Regions from separate parts of the Homo sapiens genome. Here region 1 is linked to region 2. The links are contacts of gene promoters, found by promoter capture Hi-C in blood cells and fetal thymus (Javierre and others, 2016). All regions are on one chromosome and are shown on one strand. The core of a region is centred on a gene start or on the middle of the fragment in contact, and the rest is flanking DNA. Distances in the headings are between cores, read along the strand shown.

The links. The method cuts DNA at HindIII sites, captures the fragments that hold promoters and counts their contacts. A CHiCAGO score of 5 or more calls a contact.
Region 1: the fragment with the promoter of R3HDM1 here is called in contact with the fragment with the promoter of PPIG in region 2 in 2 of 17 cell types (fetal thymus and total B cells); the score reaches 7.6 in fetal thymus.

Annotation. Positions count from the first base shown.
Region 1 is chr2:135,529,220-135,533,092 of GRCh38, forward strand. R3HDM1 (R3H domain containing 1) reads left to right here and starts at 2,265. Exons shown (of 27, transcript NM_001378107.1): 1 at 2,265-2,414. ZRANB3 (zinc finger RANBP2-type containing 3) reads right to left here and starts at 1,999. Exons shown (of 21, transcript NM_032143.4): 1 at 1,908-1,999. RefSeq lists enhancers at 1,312-1,391, 1,742-2,011, 1,980-2,274 and a silencer at 2,242-2,431. The HindIII fragment of the contact is 3,394 bases long and covers 2,153-3,873 here.
Region 2 is chr2:169,582,955-169,586,431 of GRCh38, forward strand. It overlaps PPIG (peptidylprolyl isomerase G), which reads left to right and starts at 1,397. Exons shown (of 14, transcript NM_004792.3): 1 at 1,397-1,536. RefSeq lists an enhancer at 1,313-1,362. The HindIII fragment of the contact is 789 bases long and covers 1,122-1,910 here.

The sequences.
Region 1 (3,873 bases), core at 1,015-3,514, about 34 Mb before region 2:
GCAAAGAGTTTAAGAATAAAGGGCACACGCATAGGGAGGGAAAAACCCTTTTCTGTAACTTGTATCTTCTTTATTCAATCAGTTTTCCTGGGTACCTTAAATGGAATGTCCAAAAGTATACATACAGTCGCCCTTGAACTCTGAAGGAGGCATAAATCAGGGCCTTACGTGCTAAGATTATTAGGCTGTGGGCTCCATGTGGCCGATGAATAAAGGCATCTTTTTAGTGATGCCTTTATTCATCGGTGTATTATAGTTGGCACCCTGTAGTCACACGTTTTTTGTTTTTGTTTTTGTTTTGAGACGGAGTCTCGCTCTGTCACCCGAGGCTGGAGTGCAGTGGCGCGATCTCGGGTCACTGTAACCACTTCCGAAGTTGAAGCGATTCTCCTGCCTCAGCCTCCCGTGTAGCTGGGACTACAGATCCTACAGATCTCTGCCACCACGTCCGGCTAATGTGTGTGTGTGAGTTTTTAGCAGACACAAGATTTCACCATGTTGCCCAGGCTGGTCTCGAACTCCTGACCTCAAGTAATCCTCCCGCCTCGGCCTCCCAAAGTGCTAGGATTACAGGTCTGAGCCACCGCGCCTGTCTGCCACTCGTTTAATAAATGGTCGTTACTCAAAGAGTGGTGATGGGGCCACTCTTGATTATCAATCCTTCAAACAGAAAAGCCCTTTTCTGTGACTCTTTTCCTTCCAAGCTGACTTTAGAAGTGTGTTTGTGGCCGGGCGCGGTGGCTCACGCCTGTAATCCCAGCACTTTGGGAGGCCAAGGTGGGCGGATCACGAGGTCAGGAGATCGAGACCATCCTGGCCAACATGGTGAAACCCCGTCTCTACTAAAAATACAAAAAATTAGCTGGGCTGAGTGGCGCGCGCCTGTAATCCCAGCTACTCCGGAGGCTGAGACAGGAGAATGGCGTGAATCAGTGAGCCAAGATCCCACCACTGCACTCCAGCCTGGGGACAGAGCAAGACTCCGTCTCAAAAAAAAAAAAAAAAAGTGTGTCTGTAAATGTAGTTCAGAACTTCGGAGCCCTGTCTTTACAGTTCAAACTGACCACGCGAAGACTAAAGGCAGTAGAGGTACTTTCTACAAATTTAGCCGTGCAATCTAATAGCGAGCAGGCCGAGACGCCCGCGATTGAAGGCCGGGGTGGAGAAAGTAATAAGGGCCCTGGAAATTACCCCCATCCCATGTCACCCACTCTTTCTTAAAATGCCATTAAATTCCGTTCAACTTTTTATCTCCCATGCAAGAAACTAGCGACTTGCCAGCCACGCCACTTCCAGCCAGTCACACCTGGCGTATTCGCCGCAGAATCTCCAACTCCCGCCACAGGTTTGGGACGTGTCCGCCCCTAAGCGGAAGTGACGTTCAACGGGACAACGTGAAAGTAGATGAGTTTAAATACGTACTAATAATTTAAAACCCCTATGGTATTTTGAGGAAACTCTTCCGGCTACCCTTCTTCCATCACTTCTCTCCCGTTAGGGTTGCGAAAAGGGCTCTGTACAGCCTCGCGACAACTCGTTCTCCGCCCTAATTTCAAGTCATTCAAAACTCTGTCCCTTTTCATTGGCTGAAGCGGCGGCATGGGTACCTCTCAGGAACTACAATTCCAGCCAAGCACCGCGACAAGTGAACGGAGGAGAAGTTATGAGTAGGGGAAAAGCATGTTGGGAATCGTAGTCCGCTCCAGGCCGAAAAGAGCAATCACCCCGCCCTCCGCCACTGAAGCTGGAGAAACCAGGTGTTCGTTTCAGAACCCGTTAGCGCTAAGGGGAGGAGCCAACCCCTTAAGCAGCATGCCTCACTTCGCCCCACATGGAGGATAATTTTCCTTTACCCCTAAAAAGCACTATAAATACCCACTGAGGAGATCTGGTTGTCTTTTAAATACCTCGAGTCAGTAAAAACTCACGAAACTCCGCACCTCAGGCTCCAACTCGTGGGAAAAGGTAGCTCTTTTACAAGTGGGCAAAATGGCTGTCCTCCTAGTTTTACCATTGGTTGGCTTTTGCGTCCTTCAAGGGCGGTTACTTACCACGGATTGGTTCTTTTTCTCTTGAGGTTGGAGGAAGATTTGGCACGGCTCTCCGCGGCCTGGGAGGAGGTAAAGGGGTGGAGAGAAGACAGTTTTTTTCAAGCTTGATTGGGCAAAACTCATGTCACTCCGGGGACGTACAACCTATGAATAGTCGGCTGCCGCTCAAAGAGAACGAAGAGGCGGGGCTAGTGCGTGGTGGGAAGGGGCGGGATTCTGCCAGCCGCGGCTGCCGCTGGAGCCGGTGTCCGGGCTGGTGATGGGGTTAATTCCCTTTCGTAAGACTCTTACTTGCACCCACCCAGCCCCGCCGTCGCCCCGCCGCGCCGCGCTCCAACCGCCTCCTCCTCCTCAGTAACGCGGGTAAGAGATGCCCTTCCCTCCCCCGTCCAGCTCCCCGGGAATAACGCGCCTTGCTCCCCTCCCCCGCCCGCCAACCGGTAGCGCTAACGGAGAAGGAGGCAGGCAGGGGAGAGATGTGGTGTGTGGAAAGGTGGCCTTCCCCGCCGGGTCGTCGGCGCTTCAGCCAGGGCCTTCTGACGTCCCGCTGCTGCCAGCCCGCCGTTAGGTCGGGTTCCGAGTGAGCCAGGCTCGCCTGGCCCGCGGCTGCGGCTCCGGCTGCAGCTGCAGCCACTGCCTTGTGCCCACCGCCCCCACCCGGGGGCCATGTGAAAAGCAAACCCCTCGAGGCCTAGCGGAGGAGGCAGGGGAAAGGTTTCCGAGTCCCTGCCATGGCTGCTGCTGCTGCCTCCGCGGCTGCTCTTGCAGCCCCAGGGACTCGGGAGCCAGCCACAGCAGGCCTGCCAAGAGCGTGGTACTGCTCTCTCGTGTGGCTGGCGCCGGTGCCCCGGGCTCCCCCGGCCGCCCCACGGCCGCATCCCCTGGCCTTGCACCAAGAGAATTTTCAGCTTCGACCGGTTGGTAAAATGTAGGTACATTTTCCCTGTGGTACCAGAAAAAGCACAATGGGAATATTAAAAAGAAAGTTGAATGACTGTCAGTGCCACGGTCCCCCGGGATCAGATTTACACACGTTTTGATTCCTGAGCCTTAGGCTGCCAACAAATCTTTGTGGGCTTTGAAGTTTTTTGGTGTTTTGTTTTCTTTTGTTGCTGTGACTAGGTGCAAAGGGTGACTCTGTTGAGCTTGTTTTTATAAAGAAACTTAAATTATTGGGACTATCATGCTCCGTGTGTAATTGTCCTGGGATAGTTAAGTAAAAGGTGAAGAAGAGGTGCTTTCCAAATTAGGATTAGTGAACAGCAAATGGTTTTTCTAATAAAATTTTCTAAATATATATATATATATCTTCATGGTTATAGTTTACCTAATTGTAACTGTAAGAAACCTTTTTTAGCTTAAATATCATTGATGACAAAAACTTTTAAATGAAAAGATGATTAAAGTCAAACTGAAAGTCTACCCATTTATAATATGTGAAACAAGATCTTCTAAGTAATAGGATACCAGTCTGACAGGAATAATTGGACACGTCTCAATTTCTAAAAATTTGGCATATTTGGCTATTTTTAGGGCATTCTGTTATGATTTCTTCATCACATTTTGATGGAGTACGCTCGTCTTTTCAAATACCACTCTGCTTTTATGCCTGGAAGAATATGTCTTTAAATCATGGATTCTATAGTCTGTAGTAGACATAACTGTGATCAGAGATAAAATTCTAGGCCCATTTCTGAGGTTTACTTGTTAGCAGAATAAACTTGGGTTCTGAGGAAACATCTGAGTTTTGATCATTTCTTCAGGGTTTGAGAAGACTATGGTGGCTTAATGATCTTCTGTATTCCATAACTAGTACACCTAG
Region 2 (3,477 bases), core at 147-2,646:
ATTTCTGCCTCTAGGTCTTTGAGGAATCGCCACGCTGTCTTCCACAATAGTTGAATTCATTTAAACTCCCACCAGCACTGTAAAATGTTCCTTTTTCTCCACAACCTCACCAGCACCTGTTATTTTTTGACTTTTTAATAATAGCCATTCTGACTGGTATGAGATAGTATCTCACTGCGGTTTTGATTTGCATTTTTCTGATGATTGGTGGTGTTGAGCTTTTTCATTATGATTGTTGGCTGCAAGTATGTCTTCTTTCGAAAAGCGTTGGCCGGGCGTGGTGGCTCACACCTGTAATCCCGGCACTTTGGGAGGCCAAGGAGGACGGATCACCTGAGGTTGGGAGTTTGAGACCAGCCTGACCTACATGGAGAAACCCTGTCTCTACTAAAAATACAAAAAATTAGCCAGGCCAGTCTGTGGCCCAGGGGTTGGGGACCCCTGTTTTAAGGTATTGCAGAATTGTCCCCTCCACACACAGCGAAGTGTAAATCCGTTTAATCTCTGAACTATCTAAAGATGAATATGCTGCTGCTCTCCTGCAATAAAGGGCAATGACTTAAAAGAGGTGGGGGTGGAGAGGCAGAAATGTCCTCTGTTTTACTGCTGTGTAAAACTGGTCACGCCCCTTAGAAGCACCACCACATGCCTAACTGTTGTTGATAATTAATTTACCTGATGCAAGTGAGTGAAAAATTTAAATGATCATAATTTACGTTGCCTTTAAACGACAGAACAATTTAAGTCCTCTAGTTAGCTAGTTCCTTTAAAACACACCCCACATCCCTACCAGAATCACTGCCCATCCCCCCCCACCCCCCCGCCCAAACAGCAATGGTTATTTATTTCTAACATAATCCGGGGACCCTTGCCCCTTAAAATAATTAAATAATATATGCCATATTTTCTCTAGAAGGCACTAGATTTGGCATCAAAAGACTTGCTTTGGCATTCAAGAACAGTGTGTTTGAGGAGGAGGCGTTTATCTTCCCTGAGCCTCAATTTCTTTATCTGTAAAACAACAAAGAACATCAAAGCTCTTTGTAATTTCTTCCTCTTTCCTCAAATAACACTTTGCTCATTACTGCGTTTTTAGAACTTATATCCTAGCGTTAAGTGGAAGCTTAACTGGAAGCTCCATGAAGGTAGGCCTTCCTTTCTGATAACCTAGCGTAAGATCAATAAATGTTTATTAAATGAGGCACTTTACTTCACAAAGGATATGGCATTTTAACGGTTACAAGCGTTCCCAGTCAACGCATCCACAAAGCATTAGGCCACCTATAAACTAGGAATTTAAAAGGCACCAAAATCCTAGAAGTCCTAGGAGGGCGTGGTGACGCAAGCAGGTGAACGCTGGCCGATGCTGACAACCCACTCCTGACGCGCTTCCGGTGCGACGCTGTCTCTCCATGCCAGGACTGAGTTGTGGGGGAGGGAGGCGGTTAGCGGGCTTTAGCGCCTTTTCTGGCGGCGGTAGATTTGAAGCGCTTCAAAGGACCGGACCCAGAGAAGAGGAAAACTCTACCGGTGCAGGTAAGTGGTATGAGGCTCAAGTTGTTCTGGCGGCGTCATTTCAGCAGTCCCTGCGTACGAAAGCGGGAAGGGCCTGGGAAGAGGGGCGGAGCCGGCGCGGCTGACCGGGTTGGGTTTACCGTCTTTCCCTCGAGGTATCGGGGCTGCTTGGGCCCAGAGGAAGTCCCTGAGGACCGCAGCAGTGCCTTTGCCGCTGTTGCAGAAGGAGAAGGCTTGCAGTCGAGCCCCGGGGCCTGGGGACGGTCCTTCCTCTGCCAGCCCCCGCCCTCCCCACTCAGGCGCACACCTCCCTCACTGACGCATTTTGCCGCACAAGCTGTAACATGGCGGCAGCGACTGCGGCCTGAACTCTAGGGAGCCGGGTTGATTTTTAAAGCTTCAAAATCCTAAGACTCAGCACTGTTGCGGGGTAGGTGGCGGGACTGGTGGGGAAGGGGGAGACAGCCTGACGTCCTGTCAGGCTAGGGTTGGAGAGTGACGGGCGAAGAGCCTGAATCACAGGGATTAAAATTGAAGACTAGCTTTCCTCCTCTTTCGACCTTTTCCTCTCACAGCACAGTGGCTGTCGTGCAGTTAAGTGGCAGAGGCCACTTTGTTAAGCATTTTTCTAAAACTCAAGTCCAGGGTCTTGAGCTCTCGCGAAGTTCCCCCGTGTTTCGGAGGAGCTGTGAGCTGCGCAGGCCTTTTAGGAGGAGATAATTACTCTTTAGGAGGAAGATGATGATTTCGGGGCTCAGTATGCCTGAAGGGGAAGTATGCTAATTTGGTTCTTGGTTAGTCTTTTTTTTTGAGACGGAGTCTCGCTCTGTCGCCTAGGCTGGAATGCAGTGGCGCGATCTTGGCTCACTGCAACCTCCGCCTCCTGGGTTCAAGTGATTCTTCTGCCTCAGCCTCCCAAGTAGCTGGGACTACAGGCACGTGCCACCATGCCCGGCTAATTTTTTGTGTTTTTAGTAGAGACGGGTTTTCACCGTGTTAGCCAGGATGGTCGATCTCCTGACCTCGTGATCCGCCCACCTCGGCCTCCCAAAGTGCTGGGATTACAGGCGAGAGCCACCGCGCACGGCCAGCTCATGTTTAGTCTTAAGGAGCAAAGTCTAGATGTGCTGGCAAGGAGTATGCACAATCGTTTTGGAAATGCTATAAAAGCACCATTTTGTGCATTGATTTTAATTTCTTTCCACGATAGCCCTTTCTGTGTGTAACCAACATTTTGCAGTAGTGAACACAAATACAAAAGTATTTGCTTTTATAGTTTGGTACTAACATAGTTGTCCAAAGAACAATTAGATGTTTTAGAAATTAGGGGGGCCTGATATTAACTTTCAGTAGTTAAAACCAGGAAAAAAGAGTGAGTGTGTGTGTGTGTCGGTCACACACACGTTTTTGTCTTTGTGTATTCCCATTTGGTAACAGGATGGCCGGTAATTGCTACTTTGTAACAATGACGGGTGGGGGGGTGAACATTTTATAAATTTTGAAATCGTGCTATAAAATCCAGAAAAGATACATTTAGAATGGCTGCTTCTCTCCTGTTTTTAATATATCCTGAAAATTTACCCGTTTTAGCACTCCCCTTTTTTTTATGTTAACGAGTTGGGACAGAATTATTTCTGTAACAAATTACATGGTTCTGTGTCTTAAACAAGAGTTCATTGTACATTGTTTGACTATTTCTTTATGATTCAGAATTATTGATGCTCTGAGATCCTATAGGGTCTTGTAGTAGGATTCTGCGCATTTGAATTGTTGGTTTCCTTTTTAAGGCTTTTCTAGGCAGTCAGTTGTCAGGAGTGCTCCTGCTGTCAGGAGTGTATAAGTATGTAAACTTCTTAGGTTAGAAAAATTTGGACTTTCTGGCCCAATTATCTTTCTGAGCTTCAGTTTCTTCACCTACCTGCAAAATGACATTTTGATCTCCACCTTCCATCAACTGTGGGC